Linked DNA regions of Homo sapiens: region 2 is linked to region 1. The links are contacts of gene promoters, found by promoter capture Hi-C in human tissues and cell types (Jung and others, 2019). All regions are on one chromosome and are shown on one strand. The core of a region is centred on a gene start or on the middle of the fragment in contact, and the rest is flanking DNA. Distances in the headings are between cores, read along the strand shown.

Evidence for each region. Contacts are between HindIII fragments. The study calls those that stand out against the background at their distance.
Region 2: a contact is called between a fragment that was not itself captured here and the fragment with the promoter of MAML2 in region 1, in 1 of the 25 tissues and cell types used here (dorsolateral prefrontal cortex).

The regions. Positions count from the first base shown.
Region 1 is chr11:96,337,850-96,344,885 of GRCh38, reverse strand. It overlaps MAML2 (mastermind like transcriptional coactivator 2), which reads left to right and starts at 1,691. Exons shown (of 5, transcript NM_032427.4): 1 at 1,691-3,503. The coding sequence starts at 2,991. MIR1260B (microRNA 1260b) reads right to left here and starts at 3,448; the gene lies at 3,360-3,448. RefSeq lists silencers at 1,508-1,697, 2,815-3,074, 5,327-5,621. The HindIII fragment of the contact is 9,356 bases long and covers 1-5,930 here.
Region 2 is chr11:95,069,283-95,076,161 of GRCh38, reverse strand. It overlaps SRSF8 (serine and arginine rich splicing factor 8), which reads right to left. Exons shown (of 1, transcript NM_032102.4): 1 at 4,937-6,879. Among named protein-coding and RNA genes, the nearest start is that of SRSF8, 5.8 kb to the right of the region's middle. RefSeq lists a silencer at 6,269-6,328. The HindIII fragment of the contact is 3,397 bases long and covers 3,660-6,879 here.

The DNA.
Region 1 (7,036 bases), core at 442-2,941:
AAAAAATCTGAGTGTATTTGTCCCCATTTCCAAGCTAACAGGATTGGTGAAAATAAAATGGACTAAAGTAGGCTATCCTATAGGGAACTAAATTGCAAATAAATCCAGTATTGAGATGTTTGCCTTGATTTTGCCTATTTCTATCCATAGCTCAGTTTGAAACGACCATATTCGTGAAATGCCAGAGTTTGTTTAGATTACTGAAGGTATATTATTTGAGACCTCAAATCCAAATGACTTCCAAATTAGGATACCCAGAATATTTTTGGTCCTGACTGTTGCAGTATTATGCTCACCTTAATTTAATCTTCATAATTGAAAATAAGCAGAATCCACAATAAGTTTTTTTTTTTTTTTTGGAGACAGAGACTCACCCTGTTGCCCAGGTTGGAGCGCAGTGGCGTGATCTTAGCTCACTGCGACCTCCGCCTCCTGGGTTCCAGCAATTATCCTGTCTCAGCCTCCCGAGTAGCTGGGATTACAGGCGTATGACACCATGCTCAGCTAATTTTTGTAGTTTTAGCAGAGACGGGGTTTCACCATATTGGCCAGGCTGGTCTTGAACTCTTGAACTCAGGTAATACACCTGCCTTGGCCTCCCAAAGTGCTGGGATTACAGGCGTGAGCCACTGTGCCTGGCCAGGATTGGATATTTTAAAGGTTGGATCACTTGAAAATGGGGGAACAATGATCTGTGTGAGATCTATTTGGTTTCTATTATTAAACTTCTTGAAACTCAGAGCCAGGTGCAGTAGTGGTGAGTACCTGTAGTTCCAGCTACTCAGGAGGCTCAAGTGGGAGGATCACTTGAGCCCAGGAGTTCAACTCCAGCCTGGGCAACATAACAAGACTCCATTAAAAGAAAAAAAAAAAAAAAACTTTTTGAAACTCAGCTGCTACACATTGACTTTCCTCATTGTATATGTGCACCAGGTAGCTAAGGATACTTCAGGTCTTATATTTGGTTTTTCATAGGCAATCATGCATTCCCAAAAAAAAAGCGTTTTTTTCTAGAACTGGTATCGATAATTGTATCATTCTCATAAAATATTTTATTTATCCCAACTGATTTGCCTGTGATCACCCAGACTCACTTATCCAGAGACACACAAATGGGCAGGCAGGTAGACAAACGCTACACCTGCCTGCCCTTTAGGAGCTAACAATGTGATTACCTCTCCTCTCCACGCGCAACCCCTTCCGCCCTCAACACACACATTCATATCTTCCTTATTCTATTAATGAACATTTCCTCGGTGCTCACACAGCTCGTGCTAGGTTGCTCAGTGGTGTCATTTACAATATACTGAAAAATGAAAATGATATCCTCAGCGGGGCGTAATGTAGGGCTGAAAGGGAAAACACATTCCTGGCCCGGAATTTCTTAAACATTTAGAGCTGGTGAAATGGTTGTGTAGAGGTTGGGGAATTTCCCCAGCCTTCCCCGCTTAACCGAGTCTGATGCTGAGCTGAGCCAGGGCAGCTGAGATGCGCAGGGCTTGGGATTTACCTCTTCAGCCACTGGGAGGCCCTCTGCGTTCCCCTTTCCCCGGTGCCTGGCTGCGATTACTCACTCGCGCAGTGGCACCAGCCTTCCACCAGGGAGCCTCGAACGAGCTCTCCCGCCCTCTCCCCGCCCCCCCACCCCCATCTGCAGCTTGCTGGCTCTCTCTTTCTCCTTCTCTGTCTCACTCTCTCTCTTTCTCTCCCTCTCCTATCGGAGCACAATGAAAGCCTGTGTATCGCCGTGACTCCGGGCGCGAGCCAGTGTCAGCAAAGCGGCTAACAACAGACGAGAAAGAGAAAGGAAAATACAAGCTACTTTTTTTTTCCATCTATAAAGCGGAGCAAATACAGGAGATAGAACCAGATTGCTTATTGCGAGTCCAGACCCTCAGATCCACTGGCCGGGGATGGAATGTACAAAAGTGGACAGAAAAGTGGCTGGACATGACTCGGTGCAATTTGCTGGAAGTTTGTAAGTTTGACCATCGTTTGTAAATTACTCTCGGAAGAGTTTGTCTCTCTTGATACTGTATTAGAATAGAGCCGGGGGTGAGGAATAGAAACGTAAGCGGGAAAGAAAAAAATGTGTTGAAGGATCTCTCTCAGTGGCTAGCGACTTAAGATTGCTTTTCATTTAAGGCTAGGAAACCTTAGAGGGAGTGAGGATTTTACCGGTGATTGGATTAGCTGAAGAAAAAAGCATGGTCCAAAAGTCCAATTACTGACATTGTTAACAGTTGAAAAGCTGTCTCCCTCTTTTGGGAGAAGACAACATCCTACAGTACCCCAAAGAGGAGAAAACACCGGAGCGAAAGGAAAGGGAGGAAAAATTAAAAGCCAAAAGACAGTCTCCCTTGATTTTTGCACATTTTGAACAGTGACTTAAACATCTTCTGAAACAGCACTGTTTTGTTTTGTTTTGGTTTTTTATTTAACCTGAGGAAAAGTCAAGGCTGCTGGTTACATAGACATGGTAGAAATGTGTTTCTCTGCAGAAACATCCCCATAAAGAATTGTCGGAAACAACTAGGTGAGGGGGAGTCCTCTCTATTAATACCTCTCTCAATACCTTTTGCTGTGTGTTTCTGTCTCTTGCTGGACAATCCCTGAATTCTTGATCTAACCCCCAGATCGTGTGTTTACAAAGTACCTAGTGGCTCTTGTCAGCTTGGTGGAGGAAAAAAAATCCACCAACTCTGTCCAACTTCTCCAGAGCTGTCAAATGCAATTAGAGTAAGTTAATCAGGGTTTGTTTCCAACTTATCCTCCCCCCAGTTGGTTTCTATTCTTTCTCCCCACCCTCTTTTTACTAACTCCCCTCCCCCACAACTTCTCCACGGCTCCCCCACAACCTCTGAAGACCTCTATTCATGTGGCCCTGAACACTGAGCTCACATTGTCAAAAACAGACTTGCCTGCAATAGCCAGCAGTAGCCTCTTTCCACCTCACCATCCCAGAGGCAGCAATCATTGTGTCCGGTAAGATGGGGGACACAGCGCCCCCGCAGGCCCCCGCAGGAGGGCTAGGGGGGGCCTCTGGGGCGGGGCTCCTTGGAGGGGGCTCAGTCACCCCGAGAGTGCACAGTGCTATCGTGGAGCGCCTCCGGGCTCGGATCGCTGTCTGCCGCCAACACCACCTGAGCTGTGAAGGACGATATGAACGAGGTAGGGCCGAGAGCTCAGACCGGGAAAGAGAAAGCACCTTGCAGCTCCTGAGCCTTGTACAGCATGGCCAGGGGGCAAGGAAAGCTGGCAAACACACCAAGGCCACCGCCACTGCTGCCACCACTACAGCCCCTCCACCGCCCCCTGCTGCCCCTCCTGCGGCCTCCCAAGCAGCAGCAACAGCAGCCCCACCGCCCCCACCAGACTATCACCATCACCACCAGCAGCACCTGCTGAACAGTAGCAATAATGGTGGCAGTGGTGGGATAAACGGAGAGCAGCAGCCGCCCGCTTCAACCCCAGGGGACCAGAGGAACTCAGCCCTGATTGCGGTAAGCACCTGGCTTTCTCATGGTTCTGGCTGTGGTCCTGTGACCTTTTGTGAGGGTAGAGTTTGCTTTGGCCTAAGGTAGAGTGGATGGCAATGAAAAAGGCCAAGATGTCACCTGACTACCTTAAAGGCCATTGGGTGTGTTCGGGTGGTTTCATGCGCCTACTCATCATGTTCTGTTGGTGCTCACTCCTGGGTTTTCCTTCGCTTATAGGATATTCCTTAACTGATAAGAAGCCTGAGTTTTCCAGAGGCTCTCTGGGGTCCACATCTTATAAAAGAAGAGGCTACCAGCTGGCAAGATCTGAGCCACTGAGGAAGGTTCTATCTCATGGATCCTCCAGCTTTGGCCAGCCAGCTCTGATTAGGCCCCCAAGCCATTTTTCAGCCCCAAAGCATTTATCAGCCCAGCTGGCCTTTATTAAAGCCTTTTTCTCCTTGCCCCATTTCCCCTCTCCCTTTTGAAGTGACCCCCTTCTTCTTCGCTTAAGAGAACATAAATGGTAAGCTGTAACAAATAGCAAATTCCCCGAATGTCCCCTCAGTCAAAAACAAAATTTGGGGAAAATATCCCAAAGAGAGACTAGGGAGGCACTGTTTCTTAAGAGGCCTACTCTCTGATTCCCTCTAGACTCTCTCACTCCTGAGCCACATCTCGATTATTTTCCCAAGCACTCCAGTCCAATCCAGTAATGCTCCCTTAGAGCATTCGTTAAGCAGACAGGCACGAAGCAGCTATTTACACAGATCATCATCCTAGGAAATACCTTGTCTTCAGCCACTCCTGGTGATAGGATATCAAACCCAAAAGTTCTGATTAAGTTTCTGGCTGGAAGTTCTTCCCCAGAGGCACAGACACACACCATCCCAGAGGAGTATCCCTTGGATCATTGATTCTCAGTGCCAGTCCTGGTCAGGTGACTGCCTGCTGTTTGCAGGCTTCCCCCCAAAGCTGCTGGACCAGTGGCCTCTGGTGGAAGGTAGAACCCTGCCCTGTGGCCCTGCAGGCTTCCTCCCTTTTGGAGCTCCATGGGACTTCTGGATTCTATGTCTGCTCCAGTTTACCCAGGTCAGCCCTAGCAAAAGCGACAGGAAATGGCCATGCAAGCCCCAAAGTACTCAAAAAGCCCAAAGGAGATGGTGCTATTGTGTCTAACTGCTCCTCCAAAGGAGCTTGATATTGAGCTCTCGGGAGAGGACATCCTCTGGCCAGACGCTCAGGATGGCTCTTTCTGGCTTCCCTTAATCCCTGGCCTGGGTCCATGGTGACGAAGACCCTGGGAATCTCTGGGGAGTAGGATGGTGCTTTTCTCCCCAGCCATAAGCACATTTACTTGGGCTACCTAGGAATGGGACTCCTTGAGGCCAGCTCCAGATGAAAAATAACTACCAACAGTTAAACTGCACAGGGTTTACAGTTTTACCCTTGAATAGCAGCACTAGCTTGTGGGGTTGTATTAGAGCTTCGAAGCCTAATATCCTTTTTCTACCACCTGCTCTATTCCCGCTTCTCCCTGGAATTCCCTAGGAAAGCAGTGGGAGGTTGTTTTGTGAAAAAAGAGATGTTAGGGTAAAGGAGGGGGGTAAAGAATCGCTCAAATGGAGAGAAGAATGAGGTTTGTATGTATGTGTGTGTCACCAGCATCTGTAGCCAAAAGTATCTAAATGCCTTGATTGTCCCCAGTAAATTTATAATCTGTCTGCAAGTCTCCCAATAATGCGGCTTTGTGTGCTTCACAGTCTCCTGGTAAGTGTTTCTGGGGATGGAACCGCAAGTGAGGCACCCGGCCCAACCCTGAGTGGAGAAGACTGATCTCTGCCCGGGGTGTCAAGGCCGGAGCGGGGCCGTGAAGAGCCACAGTGGGCTTCCCTTGTGGCCTTCACAGCCCAGCCTCTGAAGGAAAGGTGGCATGTTTGCCTCTGGCCTTGTTCTTTGAGCTTCTGCTTTTGTCCAACTTGGCAGTAAGCTGAGACAGCCTTTTTTTTCTAGGGTGTTTCATGATGGGAAATGAAACCAACTTTAGTGGTCGTGGTAACTTTACAGTAGCAATACCCATGCTGGGAGGGAAGTGAGGGAGCGGTGTCTGGCCCTTCCCGACTGAAAGCTTACTGCTGCAGAAGCCATAGCTGGCTGCTGTGCTACCTCTGGCCTAAGAGGGAATCTTTCTCTCTTCTAACCACCAGCCATCTCCTGAGACATTCCCTTAGAGGAGCTCCCTCTCCAGGTGTAGTGATGATGCAGAGAGGCACAGTTTAAGTTAGGAGGGTAAGGGATAGTATATTTCTAGTAGTTGCTTTTCACTGAGAATATGTGGCATTGCACGGGTTGTTGGAAATTCCCTCTCCATTTTAGCTGCTAAATTTGGCCCGTTGTTACTCAGCACGGTACTCAGAGATGGTGATGCAAGTGCTGTATTAACCTGATAACATTGTGTCCAAAGGGAGGCCTGGGCATTTTGAAGTGATTCACCAAGCCCATTACATTGGCAGGTCTCACTTTACTCGGGCTCCTCTTATTTTTCAGATATGCTATTAATTTTAAAAGGGCCTTTGTTCAGGGTGAGTGTCAGAATTTTTTCTTAATTTTATTGCTACTGTGTCCATAACCAGATTTATGTGACTTAGGTGTGTTGAATGTATAACTTTAATAGTTAATTCGTATGCCATAAGTGGCCATAAATGTCCTTTGGAGAAAGGGAGAGAATATTGATCATCTAAAATCAAAGATGTGCTGTGTCCTCAGATGAAAGCTTTGTATCCTGCATACCTTCTAGTACAATGCCTTGAAGACAGTGGGTAATATTTGTTGAATGAAGGTGAAAGGACAACTTCTGTTTGGTGGGATAATGTTGACTTTCATGGGTATTATACAGCAAGGAATATATAATGTCTGAATCCTTTCAATAGCCTTAAGTTTCAAGAACAATGCAAGAATAACCTCCAAGCCAGTTTTAATTCTGTCCACATTGACAGCCTAATTCTACAGCCCTTACTCAGCCAGTTTCTTCATTTAGCTCAAGTACAAGTTCAGGGGAAGCCCCGCTGCTGCAGAGTCTGCAGGAACAGGGCCTTTCAGAGGGCCCGGATTATAGGGCTTTGAGCAGATCTGCATTTCTAACCACTTGGAGCAGACTTTAGGCACTAACTCATTTTCTGGTGAAGTATGTTTGAATCTTTGAATGAACTGTGAAACTGAATAATTGCTGGTCCATGGAACAGTAAGGTTTAGAGCTTCTGTGGTACATTATTAATCTTTCCCTTTTGCCTGAGACAAGCTCTTTTTCTGTTGCATAGATTGTGTTGCTAGGATCACTAGATAAGTGGTTCCATGTCATCTCTGGCTTCAGAGATTATCTTTTCTCTAATGTCATGTGGAGGAAAGAAAGTAGATCAGACAAGGAGCCTACATCCCTTGGTTTTGTGCCTGCTGGATCACCATCTGGGTTACCTAGGACAAGTCACTTAGCAGTCATCTGTGGAACAGAGAGGACAATCATGCTGCCCCAGCTTGTTGAGAGAAGCAAATGAGCGTGT
Region 2 (6,879 bases), core at 4,109-6,608, 1.3 Mb after region 1:
GGCTACATACTCTGTGATTCCAACTATATGACATTGTAGAAAAGGCAAAACTATAGAGGCAGTAAAAACAGTAGTGGTTGCCAGAGGTTAAGGAGGGATGAATGGGTGGAACACAGAGGATGTTTTAGGGCAGTGAAACTACTCTGAATAATACTATAAGAGTGGATACTTATCATTATAAGTCATTTGTCCAGACTCAAAGAACGTGCAACACCAAGGCTGAATCCTAATATAAACTATGAGCTTTGGGTGATAATGGTGTGTTCATCAATTGGTTCATCAGCTGTAACAAATGCACCACTCTGGTGGAGGATGTTGCTGAGGGAGGCTATGCATATGTGGGGACAGGGTCTATAGAAGAACTCTAACTTCTGCTCAGTTTTGCCATAAACTATTCTAAAAAAATAAAACTCATTAATTAAAAAAGTAATGGGTAGGGCTGTGGGAGTGGTGGTGAGGACAGTGGTATAACTGAGCATCACAGAAATAAAGGATATGAGAGTAGGTCCTTGCCCTCGGACTTATCCTAGAGGTAGGGAGAATGCATAAATGCACAGAATTCTTGCTCAAATCTATCAAGCACCTCCTACTTGCCTGTCACATTTACATCACACAATATCTTCACAAAAATCCTGCACTGTAATTTTGGCTCAGAGAAAATCAACGATTTTTTTCTGAAAGTCACATGACCACAAAGTGGCAAGGCCAGATTCAATTGCTGTTCAGCTGGCTCTACATCCGGTTTTCCTCTGTAACTAACTGCTGGAAAGGTAAAAGTGGTGAGTAAGGGAAAGGTTTGCTTTACTAAACACATCACGCTTCAGAATCAACTTTGTATACATGATACACAGCATGCCAATGGATGGGCTGAGTTTGTGACAAGAGGGAAAACACAAAACCACATCATCATTTATTTATTTCACCATTAAAAGAAAAATAAGAGGCTGTGAGGGAGGAGGTGATGGAAGGAATAATTAACAGAGAATCATTATTACTATCCAGAGTAATTGCCTTCCTGGAATTTCTCGTAACAAGGATGCAAGGTCATTTGTAATGGACAAACAGAGGCACACGTTCCTGGGAGTCACCCTCTCTTTGATAGCGAGGAAGGAAACCCTCGGCAGCTCTGGAGCCATGCCAGGGAAGCTTGCTGCACAGCTGGGTGCCAATATAAGGAGTGGCTTGGGCCCAGGGAAATCTATCTTGGTTCATCACAGTCACCACTTTGGCACAGGCCTCTTGACCCTTCATGTACTGGTGGGAGGACTCAAGTGGCAGGAAGATGCAGAAATGCAGGGGAACAGAGGGGAAAGTAGTGGGAGAACTCGGAGTAGAAAGCTGCATGCTTTCAGGACTGGCCTTTAGCTTCATCTCAACACTTCTGTTTTGTGGCAGCCACTCTGAGAATCTAGTTCAGCAGTATGAACTGCTTTCATAGGGCCCTTCACTACAGTTACTGAAACCTTTTTAACTTTTTATCTCAGATGTTGTTACAACAGAGTTTTCTCCACCCTTTGAATACCACCTAAGGGACTGATTGTCTTCTTTGGCCAATGGCAAGGCTCCAGTCCCCAGAGACATTACCTAACCCACTAACCTGTGGCCCATCTTACATCAGGAGGCCTAATACGAGGTGGGCGGAGCTTCTCCCACACAGTACCCTAACAGTGGACATTTTCCCCGACATCCAGAACCTTAATCCATAGTTCTAGTTATACGGTGAAAAGAGAAATCCCTCTCTGAATGTCCTTTCCAGCACCCAGTGAGGAATAGCACAGAGCCTTTGTTGTAACTAAGTTCCCCAGGCCCCTCTAAACCCAAGCAGGCTTCCTCAAGTCTCCTTTCTTCTCTGTAGTATGCGGCTGGGACTCGGCCCATCTTCTTCACCTCTTTCTATGTTCACCCACCGTATTCTTTAATTTCCATCCTGGTGGAAGAGGGAGTTAAAATCTCCCTACCTGCCTACTTCCTTGCTACTCCAAAGGGAGAACAAAGGCTTCACTCCTTACTGCTGCAGGGAAGAAGTCAATACACACATATACTCACACGCTTACACAGACACCAAACAATTTTAGTACCTTACAAAGCTCTTGTCTGAATGTCATTAGACTAATTTTCCACTCCCGTCTCAGATGGTAATTATAGGTCCTTGTTACGGTTTAGAATATTTTCCCACAAAACTCATAGCTCACTGCAGCCTTAAACTCCTGGACTCCAGGGATCCTCTCACCTCAGCCTCCTGAGTAGCTAGGAGTACAGGCATGCGCTACCACGCCCAGCTTGGGAACTTAAAAATAGTGTTGATACCTATGTCCCACTTCCAGAGATACTGATTTAATTGGTTGAGAACCAGCAACCTATGGAGAACAGTGGTTTTCAAACTTTAGTGCATATTAGAATCACCTGGGGAGCTTGTTAAACCAGATTGCTGAGTCCTATCTTAGAGTTTCTAATTTGGTAGGTCTGGGAAGTGAGGCCCTAGAATTGGCCTCACCAATTCTGGAATTTTCTAACACGTTTCCAGGTGATACTGATTCTGCTGTTGCAAGGAGGGGAAGGACACTTTGAGAAACACTGATGTTTCATATCAAGTTCCCACAGGAGAATCACAATGGAGTTTTCTACATCCTTGCTACTTAAAGAATGGTCCATGACCAGCAGCCCTGACAATACCTGGGATTTTATTAAACATGCAGAATCTCAGGCCCCAGACCAAACTCACTGAATTGAAATCTGCATTTTAACATGATCCCCACAGGATTCAAATGTACATTTCTGTTTGAGAACCACTGTTCTGGGTTTCTGAAGCAAATCCATGCTGTATTTAGTAGATAACTCTCCTCTTGAGTAAATGACAGTTCTCCATTGGAAGCTCTTCACTTGCTCTTGGGCCCTGGCAGAGATAAAAAAAACTTGACCATAGGTGAGCATATGACCTGAGCCTCCCATCATGAGCTGGGTGATGACTGACCTAACAAGACACAAAGTGAGTCACACCTGCCAGCTCTCTGCCCTCAAGCAGAAATAAGACTGAAATGACCAAGATGGGACATGTTCTGAAGACACAAGTAAATCACATAAGCAGGTGACTTATAGTCCCCAGTATGCCTGCTCTTGCCACTCTGCTATCCTCTTCCAGTCTTCACATATAGCCTTGTAGGGAATTCTCTGGTAAGCAATTGATTGAGGAAGTAAAATTATCAAGCTCAGTTACAAATGGCTGTGCATAAGTGGCTACAACCATTAGCATGGGTCATGGTGGCATTATAACCTACACAGTATGTCCCTGAGCAATTCTGGAGAAGGGAAAAACCGTTCAAGGGGTAGAACTTTCAGTATCTCATCTTGTTATCCACTTCTCCTGGAAGAGGAACACCAAGAATAGCTAAGCCACTCTTGATGAAGACAAGATGAGAGAACTTGCTTTATTAGATATCAAGGTTTATTATAAAGCTGAAGTAATTAAGACAGTATTAGGTGCAGGCATGGAAAAAACATACTAATAGGGGCCAAGGCGGACAGATCACTTGAGCTCAGGAGTTCAAGACCAGTCTAGGCAACATGGCAAAACCTCATCTCCATAAAAAATACAAAAGTTAGCTGGATGTGGTGGTGTGTGCCTGTAGTCCCAGCTACTTGGGAGGCTGAAGTGAGATGATGACTTGGGCCCAAAAAGTCGAGGCTGCAGTTAGCCAAGATCACACCACTGCACTCCAGCCTGGGCAACAGAGCAAGATTCTGTCTCTCTCTGTCTCTGTCTCTGCCTGTCTCTCTCTCTATATATATAATACATAATTACATTATATATTTATATATTATATATAAGTATACATAATATATATGAAATATAAATAAAATATATTTTAGACTTTATATATATTCTATTTACATAAAATTATATATATGTTATATATTACAGACTATATATCTTTTATATCTTCTATATATATCTACATCTTTATATATGTATATGTATGTGTATACATGTATATATACACATACACAGTATGTATATGTATATGTATATATCTCAATAGAAATAAATAGTGAATCCAGAAGTAAACTTACCCAGTATGGATACTAATATATGGTAGAGGTGGCAGATTGGATAGGAAAGGAGTTTTCAATAAATAGTGCTTTAAAAATTGATATCCAAGTAGGAAAAAAATTATGTTAGATTTTTACCTCACCACATGCACAAAAATCAATTTCAGTTGTGTTAAAGTACTAAATGCTGAAAGACAATACTATACTGAGTATAGGAAATAATATATGAAACTATCTTTACTGCTTCAAATTAGAAAACAAGACATATAAAACACTAACCACAAAATGTTTGAAGAATTTAGCTACATTAGTGTAAAAATAACTCATCAAAAGACATCATAAAGTGAATTAAAAAACAAGCCACAGAATGGGAAAATATATTTATAGGGCATAAAGACAAATAAGATCCAGATACATAGAAAATACCTTTAAATTGTTAAGAAAAGACAGGTGACCCAATAGGAAGGTGGACAAATTATTGAAAAGGCACTTCACAAAGGAGGATATCCAAGTGGCTAAAAAACAAACAAATAAAAAGCTACAACCTTTTGGTAATCAGGGTAAAGAAAATTAAAACCAAATGAAATACCACTATATACCCATCAGATTTGCAAATATTAAAAGGTCTGACGTTAACAAGTGTTAATGAGGATGTGGAGCAAGTAGAATTCTCATCAATTGATGATAATAGTATATATTGGTAGAACTACTTTGGAAAATAGTTGAAAATTATCTAACAAAATTGAATATGTACTTGATCTATAACCCAGAAAATGCACTTTTGGGATTGATACCTGAAATATATATACACGTGTACATCAGGTTTTATGTATAAAAATATTCATTGCTTCCTTATTCAGAATAACTAAAATAGGAAACAACCCAGATGTCCATCAATAGAACAGTAAAAACTGAATTATGATTTATTAATTAGTAAAACACTACACAGCATCAAAAATAAACTCAGCCACATGCAACAATACAGAGAATCTTAAAGACATAGTATTGAGCAAAATAATCAGTACACACAAAATTCCACTTATACAAAGCTCAAAAACAAAATTAAGCAATATTTTTAGAAATGCACTTATAAATGATGACTGACCCACTATCAAGGAAAGTATTTAACATTGCTCTGAAAGTTCTGGAAATTCTTGATTTTCCTTTCTCAATTTCTACACCCATCACCACGCCCAGTCTTCCCCAACTCACTAAACAGCACCGTCATCCATTTAGCATTTCAAGCCAGTGAGAAGTCATCCTTAATTCTGCTTTTTCATTAATTTCCCTACTTCTAATCTATTACGTGTCTTATTAGATCTAAGATCAATATATTTCCTGAATATGTCTATTTATGTCCATTTCCAACACTACCACTGAAGTCTAAGCCATTGTCACCTTTCTTTCTGGATTACTGCAATAGCCTCACAGCTTCCACTCTTGACCACATACACTCCATTCTGCACTCAGCCCTCATAGTGATCATTATAAAGGATAAAATGGTGTGGCCAGTTAGCTCAGTTGGTTAGATCATGGTACTAATAAAATGCAAAACATGTCACATCACTCTTCTTCATGGGTTCATGTCCTCTGTGGGTCAGGTCTTCCACATGTAGAGTAGAGGTAGGGTATGTTCACACCTTCAATGACAACTACACATTTCTGCTCCAACAGGTCCAAAATTGTTCCTAGGTTTCAAAGTTGTTGTTTGTTTGTTTTTTTCCTTTTTCTTTTTTTTTTTTTTTTGAGATGAAGTTTTGCTCTTGTTGCCCCGGCTGGAGTGCAATGGCGTGATCTCGGCTCACCACAACCTCTGTCTCCCGGTTTCAAGCGATTATCCTGCCTCAGCCTCCGAGTAGCTGGGATTATAGGCATGCGCCACCATGCCCAGCTAATTTTTGTATTTTTAGTAGAGACGGGGTTTCACCATGTTGGTCAGGCTGGTCTTGAGCTCCTGACCTCAGGTGATCCACCTGCCTTGGCCTCCCAAAGTGCTGGGATTACAGGCGCGAGCCACCATGCCCGGCCACAGGTTTCAAAGTTTTTAACGTATAAAGAGTTGCTGATTTTAACATCATATTTTGGTCACGTTTAAGATGTTCTACAGATATTTTTGCTTCAAAGCTTCAAACTCCAGCTATGCCTGGGTCTCATTCTATCCCCAGAAATTGACAATGCTTCCCTACCCTTAGGGCTGCCCCGTCCCCGTCCCACTCGGTCCCATTTAATAAATATACCTCACCTCCCTTCGCCACCTGCTGGACGCGAGGGGCTACTACGATGCCATGGGTGTCCTGATTTTTTATTTCTCAGACAGGACTGCTCTGTGTGTGTCTTTGGATTCTACGTAGATTTATATTTGTAAAATATTACATTTGTCATGACCAGAAGAAATGTCATTATCGTAAAATTTAGATTCTGGAGTCTATATATGAAAGCAATACTAACTACTAACTGTTATAACAACAAAATGTGGGATGTATATCTACAGACCACAGCCACCTTGCCAGTTCATTCAAGAATCGAACCCTGGATTTAGCAGTTTCTGCACAAAGGGAATGAAATATTTTTAATTGATAATTCAGTCAAAAATATTAATGAAGATCCATATGATTGAAAGAATAAATTTATTCAATTGGCTCCAATGTAATCCTATTGTCACCAGATCATTGACACCAAATTGTTATTTTTCCCTTTGCTAGTAAAGGTATAAGCAGAAACAATTGCAAAAGAACACATAACATCTAGTAGGGATAATGATGAAAGCCAAAAATGGATTATTTGAAAATAATTTTGGAAGTAAAAAAACCATAGGTGTGAGGAAAAAAGAGA